Regions from separate parts of the Homo sapiens genome. Here region 2 is linked to region 1. Evidence: promoter capture Hi-C in 16 types of primary human blood cells and fetal thymus (Javierre and others, 2016). All regions are on one chromosome and are shown on one strand. Each heading gives the region's core, a stretch centred on a gene start or on the middle of the fragment in contact. The rest is flanking DNA. Distances are from core to core; before and after follow the strand shown. Region 1 holds the start of CTHRC1 (collagen triple helix repeat containing 1). Region 2 overlaps ATP6V1C1 (ATPase H+ transporting V1 subunit C1).

Evidence for each region. Contacts are between HindIII fragments. The CHiCAGO score rates a contact against its expected background, and 5 or more counts as called.
Region 2: a fragment that was not itself captured here is called in contact with the fragment with the promoter of CTHRC1 in region 1 in 1 of 17 cell types (total B cells); the score reaches 6.0 in total B cells.

The regions. Positions count from the first base shown.
Region 1 is chr8:103,370,007-103,373,063 of GRCh38, reverse strand. CTHRC1 (collagen triple helix repeat containing 1) reads right to left here and starts at 1,526. Exons shown (of 4, transcript NM_138455.4): 1 at 1,258-1,526. The coding sequence starts at 1,407. RefSeq lists enhancers at 278-1,071, 1,072-1,866 and a silencer at 1,523-1,642. The HindIII fragment of the contact is 4,990 bases long and covers 1-3,057 here.
Region 2 is chr8:103,037,667-103,040,723 of GRCh38, reverse strand. The region is part of intron 1 of ATP6V1C1 (ATPase H+ transporting V1 subunit C1); the gene reads right to left. Among named protein-coding and RNA genes, the nearest start is that of ATP6V1C1, 18 kb to the right of the region's middle. The HindIII fragment of the contact is 649 bases long and covers 1,144-1,792 here.

The sequences.
Region 1 (3,057 bases), core at 277-2,776:
TTTGGACACTTAAAATAGAACTGTTGCCTGAACACATAGTCCCCTTTTGTGGATCAAAATTACACAGCCTACCACCAAAAAGTGCTGTGTGAAATGGCGGGAATTTTTTTCCCAGCACTTTTGAATCCAATACAGAACTAGCTGCCAGGGAACTTGGTATATTAGCTCAGTTTAAAATGGCAGCTTAACAAATTCAAAACTTTCTTTTTAATTAAAAAAAAATGCCCCAACTTATGTCTTGCAATGCCTGTAAATCATGTTTGTCTGCAAGTGAGACTGAAGTTTATAATATGCCAAGGACTACGGTAGCTCTGAAAGGCTCCCTCATACCACAGGCCAGAGAACCTCTCCGCCCTCCACTGGGTTTGTTGATTTTTAGAGGGAAGGATTTTAAGCAAACATACCTTCCCACAGATGAGCCCCTGGAAAGCACTCGGGCCGTTCATTTCCAGTTTCCTGGAAACTGTTTTCTCCCGTAGCTTGACTGTGATGCTCCTACCTGGCGGCCACATATGAAGACCCAGGGTGTGTGTAATGACAGACTGCCCATTTGGTTTAAACAGAAGCAAAACAGGTCCTTAGAGGGTTAGCGCCGGGCCCCTTCATTTCCCTTTCCGGCCTTAAACCTTCTGAACCATTCCTAGCCCCAGCTGTGGTTGTCCAACAAAGTAAATTGCAGCCCATACTCCCTAGGAAGATGACCCAACGTGACTCATAGTCTTCAAGTTACAAAGAGTTGGACGGATGCTTTGTGGGGGTTGTTATTCTCTCTCGCAGGCAGACGTGGCCACCAGCCCCAACAAAGGACACGTTGCACCGCCCTGGCCCAGGCCCAGGTCCATGTGATCAGCGAGGCCAGGGTTTTTCCCAGGTCCACTTCGGACGTACCCAAGCTCCTCATCCTACTCTCACTGCCGCCCTATCCCTCCCACCCTTCCCAAGGGGTCCCCCTGGGGCCAGAAATTATTGGGGGACTCCCTGTACTTCGGGGAGACCCACCGGGCCCATATCGCATGTCCGCTCCACGATGGCCTCCCATTTTGGTCTCCCCTCTGAGTTCCAAGACTCACTGCACGCATAACCAGGTCCTTCTTCACCTGTAAATAAAAAGCATGACACCCCGGCGCAGCAAGACACACGACACACAGCTGTACAGACAGACACCCCCAACAGCCAGACTGACGCCCTGCCCGTGGGGCGCGCGGCCAGGTCCCCTCCACCAGCGCGGCGGTCCCGGCTCGGCTCCCTCGGACTCACCAGGTCCACCACCTCCCTCTGCCGGAGCTGCGCCTTTTGCTTCCCCTTGGGGATCTCAGAGGCGCTCGACGGCGCGGGCAGCTGCAGCAGCAGGAGCAGCAGGAGGCCGCGGAGCCGCTGCGGGGAGGCGGCGGGGCCCTGGGGTCGCATGGCTCCCGGCTGCCGGGCAGCGCGGAGCTGGAGGCGGAGGAGACCGAGGAGAGGAACGTGGTCAGCGTCTGGCTCCGCCGCGCTCCGAGGCCGCCGCAGGCTGCATCAATGCGCCTTTCACCCGCGCGCCTCTCTCCCTCCCTTAATTCCTCCCGCCCCCGCGACACCCGGAGCTTCCATCCCGTAATAGGCCCCGAGCCCCCACCCCGAGCCCGGCGTGGGGGCGGACCGAGAGCCGGGCCCGCCCCCTCCTACTGCAGTCGCTCGGCCTGTCAGGACCCCCGCGGGGCTGCGCAGACCCTCGTGGAGAGCCCGCCTGCAGGGTCTGGGCGGGGTGGCCCGTGGTCAGGAGCCGCAGGTCGGGGATTCCCGCAGGTAACACAGCGCCGCCTAAATGAACATTTTAGAGACACGTGGCTTAACCTGGGTACACGAGCCACCTTCAAGGGTCGTCAATCTATGGCATGGGTCGGCGAGTCTTATTTGTTTTTTGTTTGTTTGTTTGTTTTTGAGACAGAGTCTCGCTCTGTCGCCCAGGCTGGAGTGCAGTGGCGCCATCTAGGCTCACTGCAAGCTCCGCCTCCCGGGTTCACGCCATTCTCCTGCCTCAGCCTCCAGAGCAGCTGGGACTGCAGGCACCCGCCACCACGCCCGGCTAATTTTTTTTTTTTTTTTTTTTTTTTTTTTTTTGAGACGGAGTCTCGCTCTGTCGCCCAGGCTGGAGTGCAGTGGCGCGATCTCGGCTCACTGCAAGCTCCGCTTCCCGGGTTCACGCCATTCTCCTGCCTCAGCCTCCCGAGTAGCTGGGACTACAGGCGCCCGCCATCACGCCCGGCTAATTTTTTGTATTTTTAGTAGAGACGGGGTTTCACCGTGTTAGCCAGGATGGTCTCGATCTCCTGACCTCGTGATCCACCCGCCTCGGCCTCCCAAAGTGCTGGGATTACAGGCGTGAGCCACCGCGCCCGGCCCCGGCTAATTTTTTATATTTTTAGTAGAGACGGGGTTTCACCGTGTTAGCCAGGATAGTCTAGATCTCCTGACCTTGTGATCCGCCCGCCTCGGCCTCCCAAAGTGCTGGGATTACAGGCGTGAGCCACCGCGCCCTGCCTTATTTGTTTTTTGGAGGTGACATTTTTGGAGGCTGGAAGGTGGGGGTGGGGCGGAGGCAGGAAGAAACCATAGGTATCATCAGGTTTTCCAAGAGTCCCATGACCCAAATGATATATAAACGCTGTTTTCATAAGTGCTAACACTTACTAAGCTCTGGCACATTGCAAAACCTTGCACGCGTACTCTGTCCTCTCAGCAATCCTGGCGGGTTGGGAGGGGTAGATGCCTCCTGGGCTACTCTCATAAACGAATGAGGAAACTGAGGCTCAGGGAAGTTAATCAATATCCAGTGGAAATGGTAGAAGTTCACTTTTGAGTACTCTTTGCCTCTGATGGATATTATCTTTTTGTAACCCCCTCTGTCCTCCTTTGGCCTGTCCATTGTAGAAGAAAACATTCTCAGGGCCCAGGCTACCCACCACGTAGGGCCAGGTTGGAGCAGGAGATCTTTTATATATAACTGGCTGGAATCAGGCATAACAGAAGTCTTGCCACACCCATAACAACACGAGGTTGTGACGGATGGTAATACTGTGA
Region 2 (3,057 bases), core at 219-2,718, 330 kb after region 1:
AGTTATAACATATAACCTGTTTCAAAACTAATCTAATGTTGGCATAGGATCTCAAGCAAAGTGAAATTTACCTACCTCGAAATAAATCTACACAAATGGTGAAAAAACGATTTATTTATGATACTAGGAAAGTGAGGTGATAAAAACCTAATATGTGAAGTACCTACTTTTTTTCATTATAAAACATCCTTAACGGGAGTTAGCCAAGAAGTGAGATTACCCAAAATACCAGCCACCAATAGTTTCCTTCAACCAACAAAGCTGGAGAGTTACAAATTTATAGGTTTATCTTAAACTTTTTTTTTTTTTTGAGACAGTGTCTCACTCTGTCGCCCAGGCTGGAGTACAGTGGCATAATCTCAGCTCACTGCAACCTCCGCCTCCCAGGTTCAAGCGATTTTTGTGCCTCAGCCTCCTGAGTAGCTGGGATTACAGCCATGCACCATCACACCCAGCTAATTTTTGTATTTTTAGTAGAGACAGGTTTTTGCCATGTTAGCCAGGCTGGTCTTGAACTCCTGGCCTCAAGTGATCCACCACACCCAACCTATCTCAAACTTTTAAAGCATACAACCAAAATAGGAAATTTAAAAAAAGAAAAAAAAAGCATAACTTTTATCTTGGAGAAAGAATTTAATTGAATCAATGCATTTATAAACAGAAGTCACCAAATAAATTTGTCACATTGGCTTAGCAAATCCTACATGGCTAGTAAATTTGGTGGTTAATTCTAATCCATAGTCAACCTAGAGAAATCTCCTCAAATCTTTGATGCATAGACTTAGTTGCCATCGAACATTTACAAATCTGAAAAAAAAAAAATCTTGCCAATCTGCTTGGCTATTTTAAAATATAGGGAGCTGAGAGGGTGGCGTTAATATAACATTTTTGGATCTGAGAGGCAGGCTGCAGTTCTCCCTTTCCAAAGAGTCCCATTAAGATTCACCTAACCCTCTTCTATAATCTCTTTTCCTCCTCCTCCTCCTTCCCCTTCCCACACACACAGAAGGGGGAAAAAAGTACAGAGACAAATCTATTCAGAATCTAGGTAGGTAAAGCACATAAACACAAATGATAAAAATCAAAGTATTATGGTATCATTATTTCCATTTTAATCTGCCTTCATGAGAACCAACATAAGCTTTCTGCTAACACTGCTTATTTAACCTCTCCTGAAACTAATATTCAATGTCTCTAAATTGAATATAACTATCTTACAAAGTTGTCCTGAGAACAAAATCAGATAATTAATGTGAAAAGAGTTTATAAATGTAAATTTCCTTTAAAATGTAAAGTATTATAGTTAATAATGGACTTTCATAATTACAGTAGTCCTAAAATTTAATTAAAGTACCTACTTAAAGTACCTATGAGTAGGTAATCAATGCTACCTTCTCACTACAATACCATTGAAAGTGAACTTAACATAGATGCCATCCTATATACTTGTTAATTTTTCTAACTACTGTTTATAGAGGATCTACCATATAAAAGGTACTGCTTTAAATGCATTATTATCTCAATTCATCTTCCCAACACCTCTACGAGGTAAATATCATGCTTCCCATTTACAGATAAGAAATGCAGGTTAAACCTGGTACAGATGCAGACAGTGGTATTAAATGAATGTTAAGAAACTATATTCTAGAAAAAAAATTTTAAAAAAGAAACTGTACTGTATATGGACTTTTCTAACATTACTGATGAAGTTAAACCTTTATCAGCTCTACCTACACCTTCTCAAATGAAAGAGCTACACTTTCCCAAATGGCCAACAAGCTAAACACAAGCTTTTTAGTGACAGCCCGTCTGGTCAGAGAACAGCACAGCTTAACTGGCCATCCAAGGATGGAAGCTACTCATAAGCACCATGCTCTAATGAGGCCATCCAAAGATAAGTTTTGATTTCAAAACAGAAGCAAAAGCAAAATCTTCATTAGCCTACCCAAGAAACTTCAAATATTGAACTTTAAGGCTATTATACTATCATATTCTTTTCCAATCTGATTTTTTCATTCAACCTATTTTTAGAATTATCCAGTGATCATTAATTTTAATTGATATATGGTATTCCATTATATGAATAAACTAAAATTTATTATCTGCTTCTTCCTGGAATGACTTAAATTGTTTTTACTTTTTTGCTATTATAAACAATTCTGCTGTGAACAATGTGTACATATCTCTCTATCTGTGAAAGATTTTTTCTGGGATAGATAAAAGTAAAATAGCTGAATTACAGGATATGTCTTCAAAGATGGAGGCGAGATGTCTTTCCATGCTCCTATGCAGTGTGACTTTGCCACTCCTTCCATCAAAAGGTGGAGCTGGCCTTGTGACTTGGTTTGACCAACAAAACGCATGGAAGCCACACTATGCGAGTTCAGGGCTCAGACCTCAAGAGGCCTTGCGTCTTGGACCACTGCCCTCAGACTACCACATAAGGAAGTCTATTGCAAGTGATAAGGCCACATGTAGAGAACCAACAACCAGCATGAACCACCAGACATGTGACTGAGGCCATTTTGAGCCCTCCAGCCCAGCCAATCTCCCAGCTGAATGCGGCTGCATCAATGAGTCCAGGCAAAACAAGCAGAGGGACTACCCCAGCAACTCACAGAATTAGGAGAAATAAGAAATCACTGTTTTAAGCCACTAAGTTTGGGGTAGTTTGTTGTGCAGCATGAGACAACTGACACAGACCACTGCCAACTCTTTTGGGTATTGCCAAATTGTTCTCCAAAGCCCCTACCAACTTAAGTTCCTGCCAGCAGAGTAAGAGTTTCTATTTCCACAACTGAAAAACACATAATAGTATATAGTGTTCAGAGTTATATATACTTACAGAAAATACTAAAATATGCATAGGAGAAAGGAGCTTTAGTTTTGTAGGTAAGATTTCATTTAAAAAATCAGGCAAATAGAGCAAAATATTCATACTTGCTAAATCTGCATGGATGACATAATTGGCAATATTTAACATTTTTCTGTATATCTGAAATACTTCAAAACTAAATATTTTTAAAATTTTTATGAGAATGTATTTAATTTACAAGT